Linked DNA regions of Homo sapiens: regions 1, 2, 3 and 4 are each linked to region 5. The links are contacts of gene promoters, found by promoter capture Hi-C in blood cells and fetal thymus (Javierre and others, 2016). All regions are on one chromosome and are shown on one strand. Each heading gives the region's core, a stretch centred on a gene start or on the middle of the fragment in contact. The rest is flanking DNA. Distances are from core to core; before and after follow the strand shown. Region 1 holds the start of SARAF (store-operated calcium entry associated regulatory factor). Region 2 overlaps LINC01605 (long intergenic non-protein coding RNA 1605). Region 3 overlaps RAB11FIP1 (RAB11 family interacting protein 1). Region 4 overlaps ERLIN2 (ER lipid raft associated 2). Region 5 holds the start of RNF122 (ring finger protein 122).

Region 1 (5,743 bases), core at 49-2,548, 3.5 Mb after region 5:
CACAGTCACTTGAGACCTTAAAAACAGTGTGTCTAAATGTTGTATTTCAAGGACCACCTAAAGCAGAATACTTTGGGATGCCTTCCAAATTCTTGACTGCTACTCCCGACCTTCTGAATTTAGAACTCTTGTGGGTAAAGCCCGGAATCTGAAAAGTTAACAAGAATCTCAAACAATTCCTGTGCAAACTAAAGCAAAGCTTGAAAGTCATTGTCGGAAAAAAGGTAGAATGTCAGTTTTCTCCACCAGTTTTCCAAGGGAACCCTAAATGCTAGTTAATGTCATATCCTTTAAATGTTCTCTATTGTTATGTAATAGCTAATTAGTGTTACCTTTCAGTTTCAATACTTCTTATATGGATGGTTTTCCATTCTCCAAAGTTAAATGGTGGAGATGAGAATGTGGATGAGAGGAAGGGAATTCTTACTTTTTCAGCAGGTGCTATTTGCCTGGTGCTTTAGCATTCATCTCATTTAATCCTCTTCACAATTTTGTAAACTGAGAATTACTAACTCTTACAGGTTGATTCAGAGAAAGCTCAGAGGAAAAAAAATCTTTTTTTGGGTCAGGGTCTCACTCTTGTCACCCAGGCTGGAGTGCAGTGGTGTGATTTCGGCTCATTGTAACCTCTGCCTCCCAGGCTCAAGCTATCCTCCTGCCTCAGCCTCCCGAGTAGCTGGGACCACGGGCATGCACCACTATGCCTGGCTAATTTTTTTTTTTTTTTTTTTTTGTAGAGACAAGGTCTTCTTACGTTGCCCAGGCTGGTCTCGAACTCCTGGGCTCAAGTGATACACCCACCTCGGGCCTCCAAAAGTGCTGGGATTACAGGTGTTAGCCACCGCACCCAGCCCCTCCTGTATACTTTAAATAATCTCTAAATTATTTATAATACCTAATAACAATGTAAATACTATGTAAATAGTTGTTATACTGTATTGTTTACAGACACCAAAAAGTCAGTCACCAGAAAGACCATGTGATTAGAGTGTTAGAGGGTTGGAAATTTCAGCCCACCCACCAACCAACAGGAGAGATCGGGGGCGGGTGGCTGGAGATTAAGCTCTATACAAACTCTTAGACAACAAGATTTCATGAGCTTCTAGGTTGCTGAATACAGGGAGGTGCTGGGAGGGTGGAGTGCCCAGCGAGGGCATGGAAGCCCCATGGCCTTCTTATCTTTGCCCTATCCATCTCTTCATCTGGCTGTTCATCTGTATCCTTTATAAATCCTTTACAATAAACTGGTAAACATAAAATATTTTCCTGGACTGACGTCTGAATTGGGGCAGTCTTGTGGGAGACTGGGCCCTTAACTTGAATTGAGTTATAGGACATCGTGTTGATGTCCTTTAGAGTTGGTTGGTGTGTAGGGAAATACTCCCCCAGCCCCTCTTCTGGTCACAGAACTGCTCTGTGTTTTGTGCCAGTAGAAAGGAGAAAACAGTTTGTTTTTTCCTTTTACAGCCTCATCATTTAGCTCTCAGCTCAAATGGTAATTTCTCAGAGAATCTTTTCTGGGCCATCCTACTTGTTATGGCACTACCTGTCATATTGCTCTGTTTTCTTCTTCAAGGTACTTATTATTATTTGAGATAGAGTCTTGCTCTGTTGCCCAGGCTGGAGTGCAGTGATGCAGTCATGGCTTGCTGCAGCCTCAACCTCCAGGGCTCAAGTGATCCTCCCACCTCAGCCTCTTGAGTGGCTGGGACTACAGGCACATGCCACCACATCTGGCTATTTTTTTTTTTTTTTTGAGACGGAGTCTCACTCTTTCGCCCAGGCTGGAGTGCAGTGGTGCGATCTTGGCTCACTGCAAGCTCCGCCTCTCGGGTTCACACCATTCTCCTGCCTCAGCCTCCTGAGTAGCTGGGACTTAGGCACCCGCCACCATGCCCAGCTAATTTTTTGTATTTTTAGTAGAGACGGGGTTTCACTGTGTTAGCCAAGATGGTCTCGATCTCCTGACTTCATGATCTGCCTACCTCGGCCTCCCAAAGTGCTGGGATTACAGGCGTGAGCCACTGTGCCTGGCCACATCTGGCTAATTTTTTAAAAACAATTTTTTGTGGAGATGGGGTCTTACTATGTTGCCCAGATTGGCCTCAAACTCCTGGTCTCAAGTGATCCTGAGCCTCGGCTTCCCAGAGTGCTGAGATTACAGGTGTGAGCCACCGTGCCTGGCCCAAAGCACTTATTTATTTGAAATGACATGATTTGTTGGCTACCTCTCCCACTAGAATGTTTATTATAACAACCTTTCATCTTTTGTTCATGACTGTCCAGAACTGTACATGGTACATGGTGGGAATCTAAAATAACAAACATTCTCTTGTTAAGGTAATTAGTGATTTCTACATTGCAAAATTCAGAGACCAAATTTTGCTTCAAGCTTTCAGCAACAGTGGACACTGTTGACCATTCTTTCTTTCTCTCAATTACCATATCCTATTGTCCTAGTTCTTCCTCCTTCTTCACCAGAGGTTACTTCTCAGATTCTTTCTAGAATCTTCTGCTTGAGGTTCAAATGTTAGTGTTTCCATAGCCTGGGCCTCCTTTTTTGTGGTATCTCAATTCTCTCATGTTACTGTGTCTCTTCCCACATGTCTTAGTTCATTTTGTGTTGCTATAACAGAATACCTGAGACTGGGAAATTTATAAAGTATAGAGATTTATTTCTTATGGTTCTGGAGGCTGGGAAATCCTAGGTCCAGGGGCCTGCATCTGGTGGGGAGCTTCCTGCTGTGTCATTTCACGGTGGTAGGCAAAAGAGAAAGGGAGCTGAACTCATCCCTTTTATCGGGAACCCACTCCCCAATAACTAACCCACTCCTGTGATAATAGCATTAAGAGCTCTGCCCTCATAACCTAATCACCCCTTAAGAGTCCCCCCTCTCAACACTATTGCTTTGGGGAATAAGTTTCCAACACATGAGCTTTGGGGGACACATTCAAACAATAGCATCATGACATTAAATGCTATCTTTATATTTACAACATAACTACCAAATTTACCTTAGTTTTGAACTTCAGACTTTTACAGTTTATCTATTTATTTGACACGTCTACCTGGATGCCTAATAGTCACCTCAAACTTAACATGTTGAGCATAGATTCTCTATTATCTCTTATTTCAGTCCTTGGTCCCAGCATTGGTTGGTTCCATGCCGAGGCCCCACTGCTCTGCCATCTCTTATTCCACTCTTCCCCTAACTTACTTTGCTTCAGTTATGGCCTTGTTTGCCTCTTGTCCCCCAAATTTTGTTTTATTCACTGCTGTATCCCCAATACTGATAACAGTGCCTGGCAGGTACTGTTAGGTACTAATAGGTGCTCAATATAATAATCTGGTAAACATAAAGTGTTTTTTTGAGTTCTGTGAGCCATTCTAGCAAATTATGGAACTCAAGATGGGGGGTTATGAAAACCCCAATTTATTTGTTGAGAGGGAGTCTCTCTCCATGGTCCAGGTGCAGTGGGGCAGTCTTGACTCACTGCAACTTTCGCCTCCCAGGTTCAAGCGATTCTCTTGCCTCAGCCTCCCAAATAGCTGGGATTACAGGTGTGCACCACCACGCCCAGCTATTTTTCCTATTTTTAGTAGAGGTGGGGTTTTGCCATGCTGGCCAGGCTGGTCTTAAAGTCCTGACCTCAGGCGATTCACCTGCCTTGGCCTTCCAAAATGCTGGGATTACAGGCATGAGCCACCACGCCCGGCCTGGAAACCCTAATTTATAGCTGGTTGGTCAGAAGCATAGGTCACAACCTGAGACTTGTGATTGATGTCTGAAGTTGGGGCCATCTTGTGGGACTGAACTCTTTATAGGATCTGACCAAATAACTCTTCCTCGAAACACAAAGTTAGGGCTTTTGCATCCACTGTTCCCCAGATGGGAAGATGAGTCCCCTGATCTTTGTACGGCTAGTTCTTTCTCATCATTCAGGTCCCAAGCTTCAAAAACCACTTCCTCAGCAAGGCCCTCCCTGAAGTTGTGTCCCCAGGCTCCATTATATCACCCTGTTTTTCATCAATGTTATTACCTATCATTACCTATTATTTTTGTTGTTTAATTGGTATGTCGTTTGTCCTATTCTATTTCAATGAGTACAGGGATCTTGTCTGTACCATCCATGCCTAAAACAGTGCCTGGTGCGTATTAGGTATTCAACATATATTCATTGAATGAATGAATGAATGAATGAATGAATGAATGAATGAAAGAAACCCAAGCCTGCTAGACCTCAAAAGCCCAGAGAACTGTTTTCTCTGGCTGGTTCTTCATTCAGACGATATTTTCTCCTCTTGACATTTTATAGTCTTCCGGCCTCCATGCGCAAGGAACCATGTAAAGGTTCTGAGCCTTGAAACCAGACAATGTATTTCCCTGTTACTTTTCGCTTGAATCTTCTCTGTATTTAGCAACCAGTCATAGAACACTAACCATGTACCAAGCGCTATGCTAAGTGCTGAACACATAGAGCTGAATAAAGCACAGAACTACCCTTGGTACAATTATTGAGGTTTTAATAATACATAATTTGACTACATTTCTTAGATTTCGCGTCGTGACGTTTTCAGCCTCTCAAACTGCATCGCCTACGCACAGAAGCTTCCCGAATCTCAGACGAGACACAACAAAGCTGCGCGCTGCCCTCGCCCCGCCCGCGGGCGCGGCGGCGACAGGCCCTCGGCCCCGCCCACACCGCGGCGCCACGCCTCCAACCCGCCTCCAGCCGTGCCTCCCCAGGCCCTTGGCCCCGCCCACACCGCCTCGCCCCGCCCCAAGCCGCGCTGTGCTCCAGGGGCGGGGGCCCACGGCGGCCACTCACTGAGCCCCACGGGCCGCAGCGGCAGTGACGTAGGGTTGGCGCACGGATCCGTTGCGGCTGCAGCTCTGCAGTCGGGCCGTTCCTTCGCCGCCGCCAGGGGTAGCGGTGTAGCTGCGCAGCGTCGCGCGCGCTACCGCACCCAGGTTCGGCCCGTAGGCGTCTGGCAGCCCGGCGCCATCTTCATCGAGCGCCATGGCCGCAGCCTGCGGGCCGGGAGCGGCCGGGTACTGCTTGCTCCTCGGCTTGCATTTGTTTCTGCTGACCGCGGGCCCTGCCCTGGGCTGGAACGACCCTGGTGAGTGCTGCCAGGGCCCTCAGGCGCTTCGTTCGCCCTTTTCCGCCGCCGTCAGCCGGTGCAGGCTCCCCTGCGTTTCCGTGCGCCGTCTTCCCGGAGCCTGGGTGCCCGGATTCCCCATGTCTGACCTCTTTGCTGTTCGTGCTCTCCCTGGTTCCACTGCTCTTCCCAGGCGTCTTGGGAGGCGGGTAGGGACTGCTCGAGTGGGCGGGGCGGGACGGCTGGAGATCCTTAAGGTCCCCTTTCTCCCTGCCCCGGACTCCCGGAATTTGCCCATTGTCGTCTTTCTCATCTCTGAGTATAACTGGAGAGCTGGACACTCACCTGCGCATCTGCTTTGTTGTTATGGCTGTGTGATGTCATCGTGGCCTGCTGTTGTCATGGCTGCCTGTTGCTATCGCCGGCCGTTGCCTGCCACTGGCAGTCTCTGAGTCACCCTTAGCGGACAGGGCTGCAGACCTCGCAGGTCTGTTAGCAGAATCGCAGATTGCACTCTTTTTTTTTTTTTTGAGTCGGAGTCTCACATTGTCGCCCCGGCCGCACTGCAATGACGTGATCTCGGCTCACTGCAACCTCCGCCTCCTGGGTTCAAGAGATTCTCCTGCCTCGGCCTCACCG
Region 2 (5,443 bases), core at 6-2,505, 4.0 Mb before region 5:
GCAGGGTCTTTATGACCTGTATCTTGTGCTGACCGCCTATCTAATTCTGTGACTTGGAATGCCTTAGCCTCCTGGGAATGCAGCCCAGTAGGTCTCAGCCTCATTTTACCCAGCATCTATTCAAGATGGAGGTGCTCTGGTTCAGAAGCCTCTGACAAGAGGGTCAGAAAAAACTACCTATCGTATGCTATGCTTATTACCAGTGGGACAAAATAATCTTACATGAAACCCTCGTGACGTTCAGTTTACCTATATAACAAACCTGTGCATGTATCTCTGGACTTAAAAGTTTACAAAAAAAAAGAAGTGCTTTCCTCACCAACTCTTTGGTTAGCTTGATATATAGCTCATGTAGGAAAGGCAGTATGTTTGGTTCTTTTTATTTATCATTTTTCAACAATTTTATGCTGTTATGCCAATCAAATTTGTCAATCATACCTTAATAAGACTGAAAAAAGTAGAAAAAAAAATCGCTAAGTCCCAGTGAATTGATAGGTCACAGAGTGTCAGAGCCAAGATTTGAACCTAAGCTTTCTGATGGTTTAGCCTGTGGTCTTAACCACTACATCCCATTCCCTCCCAGAAAGAGGAAAATGGTTGTGAGATAATGCTAAGTGAATAAGATAGAATATAAAAATGTATCTCTACAAATCTATGGTCTATTTATAGATGCATAGAAAAAGACGGAAGGAAATACACTCCAAGTTTCACAGTGGTTACCCCTGAAAAGTTTAAAAACAAAAAGTAGCCACAGCACTTGCGTTCACCGGTTTCTGTTCCTCTTAGAGGCTGCTGAGACTCCACAGAAAGTATTGAGTCTTTTTTGCATGATCATGAAGAGCAAGTTTCTTGTTTCTAAAGGTCGCCGTAGTCTTGCTCTTGAATGCTGGTAACTGCCACTGGGGGAGAAGGGATGTGTCCTTCTCTAAGGGGAGAGGGGACGCATCGGCCCCCTCCTCCTTACTTCAAAGTTTTCTATGTACTTCCCATGGGTACAATATGATGTAGTATGGTGGGAAAGAGTGTGTGCACATTTTTGCTTAGTCCTTAGAACAATACCTGGCTCATAGTTAGTGCAAAAGTGTTAGCTATTAACATCTGTAAAATGTAATAATGGTAGATGATTTATTGTGTTGTAATTGAGATGAAATGAGTGCCTCTATGTTAAATACTCACTTTAGACCAGAGCCAGGTCACACACTCCTGGCTGTGTGACCTTGGACAAGTTACTTAACCTCTTTGTGCCTCAGTTTACTCATCTCTGACTTGGGGAGAGTTATAATACTGACCTTTATAGAGTTTTGGAAGGTTAATGCAAGTAAGATACTTAGCACAAGAAGTACTCAACCCATGCTAGTTATTCTTATTCAAGAAAGCCTGGAAGAGTCATTGGCTTCAGATAGTTTTGTAGTTACGTGAATTTAAGTGAGACCCTCTTTCTCCAGGTGCTATGAGGATTGCGGGCAAGCCCAGTCTCTGCCTCCTTGACACATATTTTTCTCCATCCAATTTACCTTGGCACGAAGGATAATTCATGGGTATGTTCACATCCTGGTCCTCAACATAAATCTTCCCTCCCCATGCACTTGGTGACAGCTCCGTAGGTCTCCTAGAGTTTCTTCTCTGAGTTTCTCATTAATGTAGCCTACACAAAGAAAGGCCTTGGGGTGCCTGCATTTCCCTGAAACCATCCTCCTTCCCAGAAAGGCAGGCAGGGGTGAGGGACAGGGGTGGGGCTGAAGAAGAGAGGGCAGTGGGAGAAAGGCCATCCCTAGCACAATGTGACTTTGAGATTCGGGGCTGGGGTCTTTGGCAGCTGCCTGTCATAGAAGCTGGGAGGCACTAGCACTGCTTCCCAGCAGGGCTGGCTGCACACCTGCACCACCCCCTGGAAGTCAGGAGAAGGGAGTCTTTTCTACAGCTATGAGTGAAACTTGTTCTGGCCCTGGGGAGGAGGTGAGTGATTATTTGTGAAGCTTGTTTCTTGGTTTGATTTTCTTCTTGAGCATCACGTTTGCTTCCTTTTTAAAAAACCAAACAAGTGCATGCTGCTCAGCCATTTCCGTCCATTCCCAGCCTTGATAATCTGTCAGACTGGCTCCTGTAAAACACTTCTTTCCTCTTTTTTTTGAGACAGGATCTCTGTCGCCAGGCTGGCGTGCAGTGGCGCTATCTTGGCTCAATGCAACCTCCGCCTCCTGGATTCAAGCGATTCTCGCTCTTTGGCCTACCAAGTAGCTGGGATTACAGGCGCCCACCACCACGTCCAACTAATTTTTGTATTTTTAGTAGAGATGGGGTTTCACCATGTTGGCCAGGCTGGTCTCGAACTCCTGACCCCAGGTGATTCGCCCGCTTCAGCCTCCCAAAGTGCTGGGATTCAGGCATGAGCCACCGAGCCCGGCCCCTAAAATGCCTCTTTCTTTTGGGTCTTGCCAAAGCCCAGATTCTCCATTGGGATCGCCAGAAGTGATGGCACTCATTCTATTTCTGTCACAAATGTTTGGATCAGAAGCCACAGTGAAAAAGAGAAAGCAATCCTCCAGGAAATGTTCTTCATTTCGGGACATCACTTGAGGTGTGTTGGGAATGTCAGGAAAGTTTCCCCATTCATTCATTTCATTCCCTTATTTATTCATGGCTTTGAGAAATACTTAGTGATTCTTTTAAATAATGTTCTTCGAACTTTTAAAATACCAGAACTCCTGTCTATTTAATAAAATCTTAGTGAAACCCAGTAGATGAGGGTCTGAACTGAAATTCAGAGGGAGTCGGTGGGTCACCTGAGGCATCCACGTTAGTGAATGGGGAAATAACTCCTATCCCAACATTCGCATTTCTAACCCTTAGGTCGAATATGCTCCGGCTGTTCGGTGCATTTATAGCGAAGTACAGGCAGTCTGGAACTTACAAATGAGTTCTGTTCCAAAAGTTCATTTGAAAGTCAGTTGCCTGGAACTTGGAATACATTTGCCTGTGGAAATCGGGGTATAGATGGTAGTGAAGTTCCCAGCCCAGCCCAGTAATGCCTATTTGATTCACAATATGTCGGAATTATAGAACTAATAACTCTCTATCAGCTTTGTGTTATTCTTTTTTCTTTTTTTTTTTGAGATGGAGTTTTGCTTTTGTTGCCCAGGCTGGAGTGCAGTGGTGCAGTCTCAGCTCACTGCAACCTTTGCCTCCTGGGTTCAAGCGATTCTCCTGCCTCAGCCTCCCTAGTAGCTGGGACTACTGGCATGCGCCACCACGCCCAGCTAATTTTCATATTTTTAGTAGAGACGGGGTTCCACCATGTTGGTCAGGTTGGTCTCGAACTCCTGACCTCAGGTGGTCCACCTGCCTTGGCCTCCCAAAGTGCTGGGATTACAGGTGTGAGCCAGCGCGTCCAGTGAGCTTTGTGTTATTAATAGTACTGCAGAAACCATGTATTTACTGCCAGTAGAGCAGTAACATATCACCCGTGGGGCACTCAACTATCTACCAATCCCACCCCTGTGGAACACAGTAGGGAACAAGTAAGTGACCAAAATCAGCATTTGCGTATGTAAAATAAATGCCTCCGATTTTCCTTGGTCCCAGCAGAATGTAAACCCAATGAAGGAAGGGATTTTATGTTTATTTTGTTTCCTGCTATATCCCCAGCACCTAGTAGCACATACTGCATACTTGATAAATTACTGTGGAATGAATACATGCACTAAAGGTTCATAGATCTCTCAAGGTGGGGACCCTTGCTTGAATCTAGTTAAGATTATTTAACACACAATCCCAGCATGGTTGGCTATTTAGTTTCCAAGCCCACTGCATTTAGAAACAACAAATTAAAGGCTGATCTAAGCAGATCACACTGACACAATCAGAGGTGACCAACCTTAAGCATGGAGACAGAGAAACTATAAAAAGCTGACACAGGAACTCTGGAAACATTTAGCTCAGTAATCTTGGGAGTCATGATTGTAAAGCAAACATTAATTAATGCTCCATAATTTTTCACCTCTATTTAAAAATGTAGAGAAGTATGTGTGGAAGTTGTAGGAAACTTGAAGAAAAAGCTGTTTCTTTCTTTCTTTTTTTTTTTAAATTATTAGTTTTTAGAGACAGAGTCTCGCTCTGTCGCCAGTCTGGAGTGCAGTGGTGCAATCTCAGCTCACTGCAACCTATGACTTCTGGGTTCAAGCGATTCTCCTGTCTCAGCCTCCCAAGTAGCTGGGATTACAGGCACCTGCCACTACATCCGGCTAATTTTTTGTATTTTTAGTAGAGATGGGGTTTCACTATGTTGCCCAGGCTGGTCTCGAACTCCTAACCTCAGGTGATCCTTCCACCTTGGCCTCCCAAAGTGCTGGGATTACAGGCATGAGTCACCTGGCCGGAATCACCCTTTTTGAAGGCGTAGCTGAGGAGCTAGTGGAAATACTGCCCTGTGAAGATAAACTATTTTCTCCTGGATGCATTATGCACCCTATGTTAATGACTGCTCTGCAGTGTCTCTAACAGGTAGGATATATTGGACCAAAAGCTAAAAGCTGAAAGTAAAAGTGACCCTGCTTACCACCATCCCCTTGGACACATGTGAGGAATTTCTTCTTCTCAATGTCATGTGGGGCTAAAGGTATTGCTTCCTAGATGGGGAGTAACTCAAGAATCCCAGTCAGCTCTAGCTATGACCAATGCCTGGCCACTTCAGGCTCCTTATGCCAAGAGATGAGAAAGCTGGGACAGATGTCACCAATCTGTCAGGTGCAATTGGCCCCAATGATCAGGCGACTAGGGCTGCTGACACATGACAGGGGCCAGGGAAGAATATGATTGTCCCCGGGATGTCTCATGGCATTCCCCCGTCCAATTTTGATAGGAAATGGACAAGTACAGCAGCCATATCCTGAGAAGGGCGCGGTGACCCTGGGCTCAGTCCCCTCAAAGATGTGGGTTTGGGTCACCCCACCAAGTAAGCCACTAGATCAGTAGCGGGGGCTGAGGGGCATTTAGAATAGGTAGTAGAGGAGGGGGATGGTGAGTATTGGTTGTAACAGTTGGGACTGGAGTTTGATTTCTCTAGGAAAGGAGATCCAATGAAATCCTGCAGGAACTGTTCCCAGGTGGCGTGACTTAGACTAAGTGAATGAATCCCAGCAGCACTGTGGACTGTGGACTGTGGACTGCGGTGGCTGCTGTGGTCTATCTTCCATGCAGCTCCCTTCAGCTCCTTCCATAAACTCCTTTGCCTGCAGCTGCAGGTTTATTCTCTGTAGATGATTCATAGCTGTGTTTCCTTTTCCAGAACTTGCCCTCTGCTGAAGGTGCTGCCTCACCATGAGGTTATACTCCTACCTCAGGGATCACAAGGTGGCTCCCTGAACAGCTCCTTGCTGCCATTTTGTGATGACACCATCTTTAACACCTGGCTTCTGAAGTCTCATGGAGAGGTCTCTATCCAGGG
Region 3 (5,209 bases), core at 448-2,947, 4.3 Mb before region 5:
TATATTTTGTGAGAATCAATATTATTAGCTTCAAAGCAAAATTAGGATAGCCTTTGTTCTCCAGATTTGGGGATATTAGAACACTCCCAAGTCTGGGTCTGTTTGGTAAACATTATCCATCTGTTCCCTTACCCATAAACATCTAGAGGCTAGGAATACCTAACTTTCTGGGAATGCAGCGCAGCAAGTCCCAGCCTCATTTTCCTAGCCCTCACTCAAGATGGAGTTGCACTGGTTTGAATGCCTCTGACAGCTGCTTTGGAGGCCTGTCACATTTGTGCATCCCCGTGGAGGGCTAATAGAAGGGCCCGTGTGGAAGAGCTGTGGAGAAACCCCTGCCTGAAGCTCCTGCCCTGGGCGGGGAGGTGAAGCGTGCTGCCCGCCTGCGGTTGGTGAGGTCATCGAAACCTCCTCAGTTAGCGTTCAGCAACTTCTCCTTTTCAGGTGCCTGCAACTGGTATTTACAAAAGCTAAACACCCTTCATCACCAAGGCTACCATTTACCACATGACTGTCAGAAGAGAAAAATATAAATAATCCTCTCAAAATTGAAGTGACAAATATGCAGACAATTCCAGGCCAGGCCCTGGAAAATGTATTGGACAGACACTAGGCTGGCAAGGGTGACATTGTCTATAAAGACCTTGCATTTTCCACTTGAGCCCAGGAGTCCAGGGCTGCAGTGAGCTATGATCGCACCACTGCACTCCAGCCTGGGCAAGAGAGTGAGACCCTGTTGCAAAAAATAAAAAATAAAAAAAGACCTTGCGTCTTGCAACACCCACCACTCCCCGCCTGCCCAGCTCTGGATTGAGGTTATAAAAACCATAAAAGATTTGTCTCCTAAGGGTCCAAAATTATAGCTCATATAATTTTATCCTCTCCTTGCTGTATTTTGTGAATTCATTTTAAGTTCTTCTTGATGACTTTGTATACTGGCCTTTAAGTAATCTCAACGATTTATGACTGATGGCAAGCTATGTTAGTTTCCTTCCTTTCTTCTTTCATCTTTGGACATTTAAATGAGAAGCTTAAATGTTTCTCAAAAAGAATTTAAATTTGAACCCTCTTTTCTCTATGTTACAAAAGATGGCCCATCCAAGATAAATTAGGAGAGAATTTAAAGCAGGAGTCTTGGTGTAGGGGAAAGAATAGGAGAAAGAATAGGGGAAACTGATTTGGAATCCTAGCTGTACCCCATAGTGGTTGCAAGACCTTGTGCCAGTTCTCAGACCTCTGAGCTTCAATTTCTTCATCTATAAAATGGGTATAATATCTACTCCGTGTCGTTCTTGTGAGGCTGAAATGAAGATGTCTCTGTGCGTAGGCAGTGTCAGGTATGCCACAGGTGCTGTTTAGGTGTTAGGTTTCGACTTTCCCCTGTGCCTTTCCTCTAAGTGTAGAAGGAGCCGTAGCAGTGGGGGCAGGGATCTGCCCTGTGAGCGAGCCACCAGCCATGGCTGAAGGTGAAAGAGGAAGTTGTGCTCATTTGGGCAAAACCATCATTTCCTTTAAGTCCACTACCTTCCGCTCTTAAATAGGTCACCGAAAAGAACTTCAGAATGTGAGTTCTCAGTTTGTGAGGGTGACCTGGTGGACAGCTCACTATAGACCAGGTATTTGGAGTTATTTGTCCCATTGTATGGTCTTGCTACAAACTGGGCTCACATTTTTTTTTTTTTTTTTTGAAAGGGATAGGGTCTCACTCTGTTGCGCAGGCTGGAGTGCAGTGGTGCAATCATAGCTCTTACTACAGCCTTGAACTCCTGGGTTCAAGTGATCCTCCTGCCTCAACCTCCCAAGTAGTTGGGACTATTAAGTACGCACCACTGCACCCAGCTAATTAAAAAAAAATATTTTTAGCCACGCTTGGTGGCTTATGCCTGTAATCCCAGCACTTTGGGAGGCCAAGGTGGGTGGATCACTTGAGGTCAGGAGTTTGAGACCAGCCTGTCTAACCATACCCTGTCTCTACTAAAAATACAAAGAATAGCTGGGCATTGTGGCATATACCTGTAGTCCCAGCTACTCGGGAGGCTGAGGCAGGAGAATCACTTGAACCCGGGAGGCGGAGGTTGCAGTGAGCCGAGATCGCGCCATTGCACTCCAGCCTGGGGGACAGAGCGAGACTCTGTCTCAAAAAAACAAAAATTTTTTTTTTGGAGAATGGGATCTTGCCTTGTTGCCTATACTGGTCTCAAACTCCTGGATCCAACCAATCCTCCTCTCTCAGACTCCCAAAGCACTGGGATTACAGGTGTGAGCCACTGTACCCAACCTGGCTCACATTCTTACAGTTCACCAAAGGTATAGGGCTCCTAAATGGAAAATGAATGCCATGAGATCTCCTTTTTCTGAAGCTTGTCTCTCAGTGGAGTTGGACTGGTATAATGTCATTTTTCACATCTTGAAGTGGGTTGCAAATGACCAAGTGTAATTCTTGGATAGTGTTTGAAATGTGACTTTTTCTGATTATTAAGCTAGGGAAGAAGGCTTCCTTTCCAACTAACCATTTTTTTTATTGTGGTAAAATATATGTAACATTAAATTTACCATTTTAACCTGTTTTTTTGAGACAGAGTCTCACTCTGTCACCCAGGCTGGAGTGCAGTAGTGTGATCTTGGCTCACTACAACCTCCCTCTCCCGGGTTCAAGCGATTCTCCTGCCTCAGCCTCTAGAGTAGCTGAAATTACAGGCATGTGGCACAACACCCGGCTATTTTTTGTATTTTTAGTAGAGATGGGGTTTCACCATGTTGGTCAGGCTGGTCACAAACTCCTGACCTCAAGTGATCTGCCCGCCTTGGCCTCCCAAAGTGCTGGGATTACGGGCGTGAGCCACTGCGCCTGGCCCCATTTTAACCATTTTTAAGTGTGCAGTTCAATGTCATTAAGAATATTCACATTGTTGTGTGATCATCACCGCCATCCATCTCCGGAACTTTTTCATTTTCCACAACTGAAGCTCTATACCCATCAAACATTAACTCCTCATTCTCTCCTTCCCCTCCTCCGGCAATCACCATTCTACTTTCTGACTGGATGAATTTGACTAACCCAGGAACCTCACATAAGTGGACTCATATAGTGTTTGTCATTTTCTAACTGACTGATTTCACTTTTTTTTTTGTTTTTTTTGAGATGGAGTCTGGCTCTGTCGCCTAAGCTGGAGTGCTGGAGTGCAGTGGCATGATCTTGGCTCACTGCAACCTCCGCCTCCCGGGTTCAAGCAATTCTCCTGCTTCAACCTCCTGCATAGCTGGGATTACAGGTGCTCGCCATGATGCCCGGCTAATTTTTGTATTTTTAGTAGAGACGGGGTTTCGCCATGTTGGCCAGGCTGGTCTTGAGTTCCTGACCTCAGGTGATCTGCCTGCCTCGGCCTCCCAAAGTACTGGTATCACAGGCGTGAGCCACTGTGCCTAGCCTGATTTCACTCTTTTAAAAAATTCTTTATTTTTATTTATTTATTTTTAGAAACAGAGTCTCACTTTGTCACCCAGACTAGAGTGCAGTGGTGCAATTATAGCTCACTGCAGCCTCGAATTCCTAGGCTCATGTTGAGTAGCTGAGAGTATAGGCGCACACCACCATGCCGGCAAATTTTTTAATTTTTTATGGAGATGGAGTCTCGCAATATTGCCCAGGCTGGTCTTGAACTCCTGGCCTCAAGTGATCCTCCTGCCTCAGGCTCCCAAATCTCTGGGATTACAGGTGTGAGCCACCATGCCCAACCCCCTCCCCACTTTTTTTTTTTTTTTAATTCTGTGTTGTATTATTATTATTTTTTTACTCCCTGGCAGGGACCATTCCTTACTACAAACTTGATTTTCTCTGAGATTTAATTATACATCATTTGCACGCCACCCTTCTTAACTGTTTGTGTATGATCTTTGCTTTTTTTTTTTTTTTTTTTTTTTGAGATGGAGTCTCACTCTGTTGTCCAGGCTGGAGTGCAGTGGTGCGATCTCGGCTCACTGCAACGTCTGCCTCCTGGGTTCAAGTGATTCTCCTGCCACGGTCTCCTGAGTAGCTGGGACCACAGGCGCCTGCCACCACACCCGGCTAATTTTTTATATTTTTAGTAGAGATGGGGTTTCACCATATTGGCCAGGCTGGTCTCGAACTCCTGACCTTGTGATCCACCCACCTCAGCCTCCCAAAGTGCTGGGATTACAGGTGTGAGCCACCGCACCTGCCCTGATCTTTACATTTTTACCCTACTGAAGGAAAACATCACTCATCGGAAGTGATTCCATGGAATATTTTTTTTTCTTTATTTTTAGAATGAGCTCTTTATTGAATCAGGATTTGAGGTGATTATACGCTAAGCACAACACTGGATCCTATCTTTGTCTAGCGCGTGTCTTCTCAAAAATAAAAGTGCAAAATAAAAAACAAAACAAAAGAAATAAAAGTGCAAATTCTGCTCTCAGCCGGGTGCAGTGGCTCACGCCTGTAATCCCAACATTTTGGGAGGCTGAGGCGGGCGGATCATCTGAGGTCAGGAGTTCGAGTCCAGCCTGGCTACCATGGTGAAACCCCATCTCTACTAAAAATACAAAAATTAGCTGGACATGGTCACGCGCTCCTGTAATCTCAGCTACTCAGGAGGCTGAGGCAGGAGAATCACTTGAACCCAGGAGGCAGAGGCTGCAGTGAGCCGAGATGGTGGCATTGCACTCCAGCCTGGGTGACAGAGCAAGACTCTGTGTCAAAAAAAAAAAAAAAAAAAAAAAAAAAAATTCTGCTCTCATCTACCACTTCCCGAAGAGAAAGCATGAGAATGCATGCATTGAAGAGGCTGCTGGTAGCAGAGAGGAGAGGCCAGTTCATGGGGATTGTGAACATTGTTGCAGTTGCTTCCATTCAAAGGTAACTCCTCAGCCTTTCTCCTTTCAGGTGGTATAAGTTGAAATCCAAACCAGGAAAGAAGGACAAGGAGCGAGGAGAAATTGAGGTTGACATCCAGTTTATGAGAAACAACATGACTGCCAGCATGTTTGACCTTTCTATGAAAGACAAGTCTCGGAATCCATTTGGAAAGCTGAAGGACAAGATCAAGGGGAAGAATAAGGACAGTGGGTCAGACACCGCCTCCGCCATCATCCCTAGCACGACACCTTCGGTCGACAGTGATGATGAGTCTGTGGTTAAAGACAAGAAAAAGAAATCAAAGATCAAGACCTTACTTTCCAAGTCAAATTT
Region 4 (5,925 bases), core at 2,225-4,724, 4.2 Mb before region 5:
AGTTCAGTCCCTCTCCAACTTCAATTCCCTTTTATTTCCATCAATCATTTCAAAAAGGTCCTAATTAACAGTGATTAAGCTGGCGCGATTCTGAGAGAGAATTACACGCCATGGTCCAGACCAACACGTGTTTGGATTAAGACCTATTTAATTCCTCTATGCAAGTCATATTCTTCCCTAATCAGCTCTGAGACTAGCTTTCTGTCAAGCTGATAGAAAATTTTTGATATTTACCTCCTTGTCTTGGGAACGGGCCAGCCTCATGTGAGTAATATATGTAGCAACATGCCTGGGAGAAAGGTTAGTCTGTGGGTGGGTTTTCACTGAGTGCCCTCAGTGTGACCCCGCGTGGAAGGAACCTGCAGTCCAGCCAGGGTTCTGGCTGCTGTGGGGCCCCCTCAGCTGGCCTGAGCACTTGATGACATGTATTTGTGAGAAATAAAAACGTGTTGCTTTGCTAAGAGCTCCCTAATGAGGAGCCACTGATCTGTGAAATCCTAACTGGCTCCTCTATGGGCCCCTGCAAAGCCTGACAGGCCCAATAATGAGTATAATTAGACATAACACTTTGTAGCCTGAAGCTGGGCCTTGAGGTCCCAGTTGTGCCTTGGAATTTGCTTGAAATAAGCCACCCCAAGAAGTAAGAGGTGGGCAGTGGGAAGGAGGTGCAGGCTTAGAAGCAGGAACAGAAGGTGAATGATATTCAGAAAAGCCAGCAAAGAAAACCTTTCTCTCCAGCTCCTGTCTGACAGGTGCTGAAAATCTGTCTTCTTCAAACCTGGCTTAATATCTGCATAGACCTGGAGAACAGACTTTGAGCCCAAAACCGTGGCACTGACCAACTTTGGAGCAGAAGTAGCTAAGGCAAGGGGGAGAGCCAACTGCTGAGAGTACACTCCCACCGCTCCAAGGCCCTGCTAGCCTGGGAACTCCAAGAAAGCAGGGTCTACGGGACTTCCTTTTTCTCATGCCTAACAAAATCCTGGGCACATACTGGCACTCCAGCCACATTTGCTGAATGAACAAATGCTCTCTGAAGTAGAAAACAGATGCTAGCCTGGCCACAATAGCCTCAAAACTCAAGTCTCCACATGGAGAAAAGCTGCTGTTGCACAGAGATCATGACATCCTTGAGCACAGTTAAAGGGCAAAGGCAATGGCTCCCCAACCCACTGGCCACAGGGCGGGGTCTGAGGAGGACTCAGGCATGACTGCCACTTCTGCTTACCTTCAATTTCTGAAATCTTCTTCTCAGTCTCCTTCTCCATCACCTTCTGCCCGTAGGTGATCTCAGCCACCTGGGCCACTTTTTCTGCCTCTGAATAAATGATAGTGAGGATTACGGTTCTGGCATTTCAGAGTTTGACTAATTTCACCTTTCACCCGAGCTGAGTGTCCTGGTGGGCCAGCTTGTCTGGAGAGCCCCCAGAGGGCAGCTGTGAGTGCACACAAGGGCAGAGTGGGATATGCCAGTGAGCACAGTCCCCTTCCATCAGTGTGAGACAGTAACCAAGGAGACCTGGGCCCAACATAGGAAGCATGAGCCCTAACTTCACAAGGGAACTTCTCCCAAAGGAATATTCTGTAAGAATGAAGTACTCTAGTAGGGTTCTACCTGGCCCTTCACTGTAGACAGGGGTCAGGTTAGTTGTTGATAATACGGTGCAGTGACTTAGAACATAGCTTCTAGAGCCAGTGTCCTTGGTTTGAACCCCAGTTCCACCCCTTACTTGCCATATGCCCTTGGGCATGGTATTTTACCCCTCTGTGCTTTGGTTCGATAAAATGAGGTTAAGGATAATACAGTACCTACCTCCACAGTGGTTGTGAGGGTTGACTTAACCCACATATTAAGTGGTTAGAAAAGTATGTGGCTCACAGTAATTGCTTAATTAAGTATTAGCCATTATTATTAAGAATTAACAGGCTGGGCACGGTGGCTCACGTCTGTAATCCCAGCACTTTGGGAGGCTGAGGTGGGCAGATCATGAGGTCAAGTGTTCGAGGCCAGCTTGGCCAACATGGTGACACCCCATCTCTACTAAAAATACAAAAATTAGCCAGGCGTGCCGGCACCCGCTGTAATCCCAGCTACTCAGGAGGCTGAGACAGGAGAATCACTTGAACCTGAGGCAGAGGCTGCAGTAAGCTGAGATCGTGCCACTGCATTCTAGCCTGGGTGACAGAGCAAGACTCCGTCTCAAAAGAAAAAAAAAAGAAAGAATTAACAGGTGGGGCTTCTTTCATTTAAGAGTTAAGTGGAAACTCAAAAAACTCATTATCCTTGGCCATGATCTGACAATTTCAACTTTGTTTCTGGGAGTCCACCTGCCACTCCTGTGCTGTGGAAGTGGTTTGGAGGACCATGGGGTCTCACCAGGCCTTAGCCTCCTTGCATCTTCCCACCACCCCCAGCCTTTCTGCCTGGAAAGGGGGATCACAGAACCACATTCAGACCAATGAGCGCCTTCTTCCGCTCTGTCTCTGCTTCCTTTTCCACCACCTTCTGTTTCTGGGCGGCAATGAGAAGCTTTGTCTTCTCACTTTCCCTGAAGAGAAGAAAAAGCCGTGAGGCAGCTATGGAAAACTCAGGAGCTTCACTATCCCCAGGTAAGTCGAATTCTTCTGCTGAAGAGAGGCAAACTCCCATTTCCTACTCCTCCTGGAAGGCTGTTCGATGGCCCAGGTAAAAGCTGATCTGTTGTTGACAGTAACATAGCTCTTCTCCTCCCAAGTAACTCATTTGTGGGAAATAAAACATAATTTAGTAAAATACACCTGCCTGTCCACTTACTGGTCTCTTGCTCCTGTCTCCACCTTGGGCATGAGTCACTGAACACAAACAAGGCCCCCTGGCCCTTTTCAAAACATCGCTGCTCTACAGGGATTATCCTGGGGTTCTCAATCACAGGTAGGGAGCCCCAGTGGTGGCCCTGACACGCCTGCCCAATCTTACAGTGCAATGGGCTGTAGCAAATCCTCCAGCAAGGGGATAACCGAGAAGCCTGGCAGCTTTGGTTACCTCTGGGATGGGACGAGGTGGGAGGTGGGAGGCAGTGGTGGTCACAGCCCAGGCGGAGGGTATACTCACATCAACTCGTAGTTTCTGCGGATTGCCTCTGGTATGTTGGGCTTTGTTACCCGCACAGCCTGGAGAGAGATTAAAACAGCAGCTGATGGGAAAGTGAGGGTAGTGAGGGACACACCCAGCTCCCACTGGGCCTTGATCTTCCTGCACAAAAAGGACATCCCTTGGGAGAAGGGAAGCAGTGTCAGAGAGAGAGGGGCTGCTCCCATGCAGCAATGCTTACTTGAATGACCAGCCCAGGGGCCATGGAGGTCAGGTCCTGTTGCAAAGCCAGTTTGAGATTTTCATCAATCTGATCTGGAATAAAGAAAAGATGGAGAAAAAGGAGTTGTTACACTTTCTAGATGAGGGAGGGCAGGATGAGGTAAAGTGCAAGCTCAATCACCAGCTCAAGAATGTACTTTCCCAAGGGAGTGTGCTTATCAAAGCCCACAAATCTAAAGATCCCCTGCCCAACTTCTGAAGCAGCCTGTGCAGGCAGCCCTCTACATGGTGAACGCAAGGGCATTTTCTTTCTGTGCCTCAAGATAAAACTCAACCTTTGTTCTGAAAATACTAACCATGCCCTACAGGGGGTGAGAGCTTAAAAAGAAAAAAAAGGAAGAACAAACAATTCTAGCACATTTCTTGCGTGAGGCAGCAGCCTTTCCCTAGACAATAGCAGCAAAAGAGAAGGAAGGTTCACAGTTTCCAAGAAGAAGGAAGGTGGAATGGCTATTTAGGTTTTGTGGAAAGAGCTGAGCACATTAAATCTAGTAATTTTAGAAGTTTCTAAAAGAAAAACAGACTTTGACGTCAAGGAGAGCCCCAAGGAAGACTGTTTCTATTAGGAACTCCATCAAACAACACAAAGGGAAAATTAAAATTTACAGTTCTGGAAGCGAGCCCCAGGCTTTTGATGTGCTGTTTGCTTTGGTCCTGATTTCTTTGTCTGGAATCCACATGAGTTGTTTCACAGACAAATGTAGGAACAGCTGTAACTGACTCTCCCCCCACCTTCCTTTCCAGCTGCAATCTCAGAACAGCAGTACCAAAGCTGACTTCTCTGGCATGGGCTTCTCAGGTTTTAGAATCCTCTTCCTTGCCTTCTGCCCATGATATCCTTGATAAGATCCCGGAGGGGCTTAGAGAAAAAGACAGAGTGAAATCAGGCTGGGACTTGTACACTGCATCTCTCCTTTGCTGTCAGCCGCCATCTGCTTTAAGTGGTCCTTTCGTGGTCACCTGTGCTCAAATAAGAGCCTCTGAGGAAGAGAAAGTCTCCGCTCTTTCACTGATGCCAAAACGGAGGCCCATGAAAGCTGGCTAGTAGCAAAAATAACAAGCTTGTTTAACTGGTGGGCCTTGATTGTTAGGATTTTAAGACAGTAGTATCAGTAAACAAGGGACGGTAACGTTTCCACATATAGGATGTGCTCTCACAAGCCTCTGAGCACCGAAGGAGAAATGCCATCAAGTCGGCACCTCACACCTGCCAGGGGTCAACCAATTTAACAACTAGAACTAAATATTACATTTCATATTTTAAGTAATTTTAAGTAGAATACCAACCAAACTTTAAATGGCCCGTATCCTCCATAAGTTAATAACGTCATTCCTCAGACCAAATTATATCTGTCAAGGTGGAAACCTGTGGCCCTGGGCTAGTAGCTTACCGGAAAAATGTGAAAGAAATACTTTTCAAGTTGTTTTAGTAATATTGATGTTTATATGTTATGGAAATGTTGATAAATGCCATTTAAATTGTATTACTAAGGTAGCCGCAGGGAAAAGGCGCAAGGCGCGCTCGTGACGTCATTTCGGCGCGACCCTCTTCTTTGCGTAGAGTTTTTCAGGTTGCTCCTGGAAACCATGCCGAAAGTAGTGTCTCGGTCAGTAGTCTGCTCTGACACTCGGGACCGGGAGGAATATGACGACGGCGAGAAGCCCCTCCATGTGTACTACTGTTTGTGCGGCCAGGTGGTCCTAGTGCTGGACTGTCAGTTAGAGAAATTGCCCATGAGGCCCCGGGACCGGTCCCGTGTGATTGATGCTGCCAAACATGCCCATAAGTTTTGTAACACAGAAGACGAAGAGACTATGTATCTGCGGAGACCTGAAGGCATTGAACTACAGTACAGAAAGAAATGTGCAAAGTGTGGACTGCTGCTCTTCTACCAATCCCAGCCGAAGAATGCTCCCGTTACCTTCATTGTGGATGGAGCAGTCGTCAAGTTTGGCCAGGGCTTTGGGAAAACGAACATATATACTCAGAAACAAGAGCCTCCTAAGAAGGTGATGATGACCAAACGGACCAAAGACATGGGCAAGTTCAGTTCTGTCACTGTGTCTACCATTGATGAAGAGGAAGAGGAGATTGAGGCTAGGGAAGTTGCTGACTCGTATGCACAGAATGCCAAAGTGATTGAAAAACAGCTGGAGCGCAAAGGCATGAGCAAGAGGCCACTGCAAGAGCTGGCTGAATGGGAAGCCAAGAAAGTGAAAATGAAGGGGACCTTGATTGACAACCAGTTCAAATAACCAGGCTTTTTTTCTGAGCCCTAGACTGGAGGCAAGCATTTAGATCAGGAGACAAAGTAACTTCTTGATTACATAGACTGGTTCCTATTTATATCCCAGCAGAAGGCTTTATGTTGTTTCCCATTGATTCTCCTACATGCAGTGAGGTCTTTAACTGAGTCCATTTGACCTGCTTTCTAGGAGATGGATTTTTCTCTAATTTTTTTTCTGTATTTAGATTTTCTTTACTATTTTTTGTCCATTTGATGCAAACTTCTTCAGCTGTGTAGAAACTTTATGAATAGATAAGTGCTTGAGTGTCTCTGGTCTCTAAAGTG
Region 5 (5,406 bases), core at 1,823-4,322:
CCAACTCCTGGCTCAAGCTCCTTCACCTCAACCTCTCAAAGTGCTGAGGTGTGAGCTACCACACCCATCCTAGAAACATATTTCTACCTCATATTTATCAAGTAGCTTTGAATATATGGCCCATCATCTTCTTTACTGTTTCAGTTTCTTCCTCAATAAACCAAACTAGTCTTCCTGACTCATGTGGAGCTGAGTCACCTGGTGGTGAGGGTGGAGGAGTGAGAGATCTAAATTTGGTTGACATGGTGTGAGAAATCAGCTTATCTTTCATAGAACCCTTCAGTCCAGGAAAATGCTGGGACTGAACCAATCATTTCAAAGATGCCCAGAACCAAAGCCCTTCTACCAACATATAACTCCCAATGTCAGCCATCAGTTGAGGTCCTGTGGCCACACTGGCCAGGAGGGACGAAGGGAGGAGAGTGTGAAGGGATACAGCAGTTTTTCGAAATTGGAGTCCTTAAGTGCCTCTGGAGATCTTATTGAATGCTTAAAATATCAGGCTTAAAATATAAATTGTTGCACCTGTAATCCTAGCTGCTCAGGAGGCTGAGGCAGGAGAATCACTTGAACCTGGGAGGCGAAGGCTGCAGTGAGCTGAGATCAAGCCACTGCACTCCAGCCTGGGCGACACAGAGCAAGACTCCGTTTCAAAAAAAGAAGAATTTCCATCATTCCTACCTTTAAGGGTGTTTTCCTTCCAAGAACCTCTAGTCCAAAGGCGAGTGGGACGGGAGGTGTTCCTCACTTCCCATCAATTTTCCCTTCAAAGGCTCTCCTTCTTTCACAGTCTGGCGCTGGAGGCAGTTAGCAGGAGAGCCTTAATAAAATTAGGATTACCCATCACATCTCTCCCCCGAGCCAATGAATAGAAAGAACAATAGTTACCATTATGCACACTTTTTTTTTTAAAGACTTTATTTTTCAGCGTAGTTTTAGGTTCACAGCAAAATTGAGAAGAAGGTACAGAGTTCTGATACACCCCCAGCCCCACACATGTATAGCCTCCCCCATTAATCCTAGCACTTGGGAGGCTGAAGCAGGCAGATAGCCTGAGCTCATGAGTTTGTGACCAGCCTGGGCAACGTGGCTAAACCCAGTCTCTACAAAAAAAAAAAAAAAAAAAAAATTAGCCGGGCATAGTGGTGAGTGCCTGTAGTGCCAGCTACTCAGGAGGCTGAGGTGGGAGGATGGCTTGAACCCAGGAGGTGGAGGTTGTAGTGAGCCAAGATCATGCAACTGCATTCAAACCTGGGCAACAGAACCAGACCTTGTCTCTAAATAAATAAAAACAACAACAAAAAAGAATATACACAGCCTATGTTCAAGGAAGAGTAACAACAAAAAGCTTCATGGCTGATGAATAGTGTGTGGTGAAGGGGAGTATTTGAGTATGAGGAAGACTGAAACAAATAAGGCTAGACTGAAACACTTTATTTTAATAGTTTTTTCTTTTTTCTTTTTGAAACAGAGTAGTCTCATTCTGTCGCCCAGGCTGGAGTGCAGTGGCACAATCACAGCTCACTGCAGCTGCATCCTCGACTTCTCGAACTCCAGTGATTCTCCCACCTCAGCCACCAGAGTAGCTGGGACCGCAGGTGCGCACCACCAGGCCCAGCTAATTTTTGTATTTTTTTTACAGGTGGCTTCACCATGTTGCCCAGGATGGTCTCAAACTCTTGAGCTCAAGCAATCTGCCCGCCTCAGCCTCCCGAAGTTTTGAGATTATAGGAGTGAGTCTAGACTGAAACATTTTGAATGCCACACTCTAGTTTACAGAACTTTATTCAGTAAACACTGGAGACCAACAAACGTTATCAAGCAAAGAAATGTTCAGATTTACATTTTACAGAGATAATTGTGACCAGAAGGGATGGACTTGAGAGTGAAATCAGAGCACTGTTTCTTTCAATAGCCGCATGAGAATTTGAGGGGTGGGGAAGACAAGGCACATTAAAATGAAAATTTCTGGGTCCACCCTTTATTGAATCAGAATCTCTGGGTTCAAGGCCTGGGAATCTGCATGTTACATCTCAAACATAGGAGTGATTCTTGTAGGCTCTGAAGTCTGAGCTATAGACTAGAATCAGAATGGCCAGTTAGGAAGCTTTTGCAATTATCCAATTAAGAAATGAAATGTCCTGGGTGCCATGGCTCATGCCTGTAATCCCAGCAATCTGGGAGGCTCAGGCGGGAGGATCACTTGAGTCCAGGAGTTCGAGACCAGCCTGAGCAACATAGTGAGGCCACTCATCTATACAAAACAATTAAAAAGTAGCTGGGCTTGGTGGCAGGCACCTGTGGTCCCAGTTTCTTGGGAGGCTAAGGTGGCAGGACTGCTTGGGCCCAGAAGTTGGAGGCTGCAGTAAGCTATTATTGCACCGCTGCACTCCAGCTGAGTGACAGAGCAAGACTCTAACTCAAAAAAGAAAAAGAGGGCCGGGAGCGGTGGCTCACGCCTATAATCCCAGCACTTTGGAAGGCTGAAGCAGGAGGATCACTTGAGGCCAGGAGTTCGAGAACAGCCTGTCCAACATGGCGAAACCCCGTCGCTATTAAAAATACAAAAATTATCTGGGCATGGTGGTAAGCGCCTGTAATCCCAGCTACTCAGGAGGCTGAGGCAGGAGAATCACCTGAACCCGAGAGGCAGAGGTTGCAGTGAGCTGAGATCGCGCCGCTGCACTCCAGCCTTGGCGATAGAGGCAGACTCTGCCTCCAAATACATAAGTAAATAAATAACAGATCTGTAGGCGGAAAACAATGTGGCAGTAATTGTTCCTTTGCCTTGGTGTCCCTGGGCAAAAGGCAGGCCCCCACTCCGGGGCATCGCTCGTCGCCGCTCCATTCTCTGCAGACCGAAGTTTCCCCAGGCCTGGGAAGACTAAGTGGGAGGCGCCCACCGTGCGAAGATCCTCCCGGCTTCCAGGGAAGGGAGGCTGGGCCTGCAAATAATAGCCGGGGGCAGGAGAAAGGCTCCGATTGGTCGGAGGGAGGGTGACGAACAAGGGGCGGAGTTTTCCTGGGGACTGGTGGGGGAAGTAAAAGGGAGGGGGTGTGCACCGCCGGGTGTCAGTTTCGGAACCCCAGCCAGCTCACCTCTGCGCCGCTGAACCCGATCCGAGCCTCCGGCAAAGGTTTTTCCCTCCTCCCCCGGCCGAGGGCTTCTGCAGCCCGGGCACCCCCGCCCCGCGGCGCCCCACATTCCCCCAGCCCGGGGCCCTTGGCGCGTGCGCTCCGTGCGGCTGTGCTCCGCGGGACTTTGTTTGTTTCCTCCTCGTCCCTCTTTGTTGGGCTGAACACCAGCCTCGTCAAAGCCCCCCACTCCGGAGGGAGTTCGGCTTCTCCAGCAGGGCGGCTGCAGCGCGCTGCCCCGACCCCGCCTGCGGCCCCTCACGCCGCTAGTGCTCCCACCCCGCCCTCCTGGCACCCCGCCTGCGTCCGTTCGCCCGAGGAAGCCAACCGCGACTTCATTGATGCACCCATTCCAGTGGTGTAACGGTGAGTCCCCGGGGCGAGGGCCGAGCCTACGTGGGGCTGGTGGGAGCCGCGGCGCGGGGTGCGAGGTCGGACAGCAGCGCGCTGGTCCTCCCTCGGGAACCAAGTTTCTCCTGAAATGGGACAGTCGAGAAGGCGTCTTGGCGCCCCACTCTGCTCTGCACAGCGCGGAATTTGAAACTATCCAGGTTTCACTCCAGAGCCTGGAAGGGGCCTCCGGACTGGCGGCGGGCCGGGGGCGTGGGAGCCGAGGGGTTCCCGGCCTTTGTGTGGCGGCCCGGCTCTTCTACCCCCTTCCCCTGCCTTTGTGCGCTCAAACTCTGTTCTTTGTTGTGGTTGTTGGAGGAGAATTAAATCCGCACTCGGGCTGGGATCTCCTAGAGGGAGCTCAAGTTCCCGGCCTGAAACTTTGCAGGCTATTGTAAATATGTATACCGTGCAGCGTGCGGGACTGGGCGCGGGGGTAGCTTCCTCTGGCTTTGTTGGTTTCCCACGGGCTGCTGGCGTGGCTTGGGTGCTTGCGGAAGACTGGATTAAAGAGTCGCTTTCGGCCAGGCGCGGTGGCTCACGCCTGTAATCCCAGCACTTTGGGAGGCCGAGGCGGGCGGATCACCTGAAGTCGGGAGTTCGAGACCAGCCTAACCAACATGGAGAAACTCCGTCTCTACTAAAAATACAAAATTAGCCGGGAGTGGTGGCGCATGCCTGTAAGCCCAGCTACTTGGGAGGCTGAGGCAGGAGAATCGCTTGAACCCAGGAGGCGGAGATTGCAGTGAGCCTAGATCGTGCCATTACACTCCAGCCTGGGCAACAAGAGCGAAACTCCATCTAAAAAAAAGCCGTTTTCCTGAGTTGATAAACCCTCGCAGAGAGCTCCGCGCCCGGCTGTCCCTGGGGTGCGAGGCTGGCCTGGCGGGAGCCGTGTTTCTGGCCACAAGGCCAGATTAGGGTGTCTGCTCCTGAGCCCAAGTGAAGGCCACACCTCCAGACGCGACAACCCCTCGCCCCATTTCTCCCCAGGCCTGGGTGATGCTTCTAAGTTAGTTCATTTCACCTGAGGCTTTTTGGAGGTTCAGGTGATACTGGGTTAGGCTGGAGTCTGATTCCTCAGCGAGCTACCTGAAAGGTAGGTGTTTCTGAGCGGGACACTTCAAAACCTTGGATACTAATCGCCCCCCACCCCACCCGCTCCAGTCCTCCTGGGGTCCTAGTCTTGACCGCGTTGTTCCGATGCTTGGAGAGTTTCTGGGAGAGAGAGATGGGAAGCAGCTGGCCTTATCTCTCAGTATGGCAAGCGAGCTAGTTACAGGGGGAAAAAAATCATTCTTTAGAGTAGACTCCTGCCAGATCTTGGATTAATTATGTCAAGAGGCTTTGTTTTGAGGCAGGGTTTGGGTAGCATGTATACCCCACATCCCCCCACCCCGCCTTCCTCCTTTTGCTGGTCGGATCTCATTTCCTGAAAATGAACCAAGCCGTGTGTGATAGGCGGTTTTGTGGGAGAGGGGGCAGAGGATGGGGGTTGAGGAAGGCCCTTGCACCCTAGCATCTGGGAAAGATTCCCGTTGGCTGGGAAAGAGAAGCAGTTCCCAGATCCCCTGGTCTTTCTTGGCCAGCCCTTGTCTGACGTCATTCCTGCTCCCAGCCTGCCAGATGAGATGAGACATTCTGATGTCAGTGCTTTCATAGGTTGGCCGAGACAATGGAACAGAGACTTAGGGAGAAATGAGGCAGCTGTCAGTAACACTGCCCTTTCTGGGCAGCGCCCTTTCATATCAGATTTTAGACTTGCTGCTTTATTTTTTTTATTTTTTATTTTTTATTTTTTTGAGACTGAGTTTCGCTCTTGTTGTCCAGGCTGGAGTGCAATGGTGTGATCTCGGCTCACCACAACCTCCGCCTCCCGGG

What was found. Contacts are between HindIII fragments. The CHiCAGO score rates a contact against its expected background, and 5 or more counts as called.
Region 1: a contact is called between a fragment that was not itself captured here and the fragment with the promoter of RNF122 in region 5, in 1 of 17 cell types (M0 macrophages). The highest score is 6.2, in M0 macrophages.
Region 2: a fragment that was not itself captured here is called in contact with the fragment with the promoter of RNF122 in region 5 in 1 of 17 cell types (M0 macrophages); the score reaches 6.5 in M0 macrophages.
Region 3: a contact is called between a fragment that was not itself captured here and the fragment with the promoter of RNF122 in region 5, in 1 of 17 cell types (M0 macrophages). The highest score is 6.2, in M0 macrophages.
Region 4: a contact is called between a fragment that was not itself captured here and the fragment with the promoter of RNF122 in region 5, in 1 of 17 cell types (M2 macrophages). The highest score is 7.5, in M2 macrophages.

The regions. Positions count from the first base shown.
Region 1 is chr8:30,082,229-30,087,971 of GRCh38, reverse strand. It overlaps SARAF (store-operated calcium entry associated regulatory factor), which reads left to right and starts at 4,908. Exons shown (of 6, transcript NM_016127.6): 1 at 4,908-5,125. The coding sequence starts at 5,023. RefSeq lists a silencer at 4,585-4,954 and an enhancer at 4,995-5,344. The HindIII fragment of the contact is 2,193 bases long and covers 202-2,394 here.
Region 2 is chr8:37,569,835-37,575,277 of GRCh38, reverse strand. The region is part of intron 1 of LINC01605 (long intergenic non-protein coding RNA 1605); the gene reads left to right. Among named protein-coding and RNA genes, the nearest start is that of LINC01605, 27 kb to the left of the region's middle. RefSeq lists an enhancer at 503-552. The HindIII fragment of the contact is 1,446 bases long and covers 533-1,978 here.
Region 3 is chr8:37,877,246-37,882,454 of GRCh38, reverse strand. It overlaps RAB11FIP1 (RAB11 family interacting protein 1), which reads left to right. Exons shown (of 6, transcript NM_001002814.3): 2 at 4,904-5,209. Among named protein-coding and RNA genes, the nearest start is that of RAB11FIP1, 20 kb to the left of the region's middle. RefSeq lists enhancers at 521-630, 1,028-1,741, 1,742-2,456. The HindIII fragment of the contact is 1,330 bases long and covers 1,033-2,362 here.
Region 4 is chr8:37,747,019-37,752,943 of GRCh38, reverse strand. It overlaps ERLIN2 (ER lipid raft associated 2), which reads right to left. Exons shown (of 12, transcript NM_007175.8): 7 at 3,312-3,385; 8 at 3,092-3,150; 9 at 2,458-2,549; 10 at 1,229-1,318. It also overlaps the pseudogene LOC728024. Among named protein-coding and RNA genes, the nearest start is that of PLPBP, 13 kb to the left of the region's middle. The HindIII fragment of the contact is 1,883 bases long and covers 2,533-4,415 here.
Region 5 is chr8:33,564,794-33,570,199 of GRCh38, reverse strand. RNF122 (ring finger protein 122) reads left to right here and starts at 3,072. Exons shown (of 6, transcript NM_024787.3): 1 at 3,072-3,501. The coding sequence starts at 3,477. RefSeq lists silencers at 3,188-3,307, 3,358-3,427, 3,458-3,507, 3,648-3,697. The HindIII fragment of the contact is 8,620 bases long and covers 2,110-5,406 here.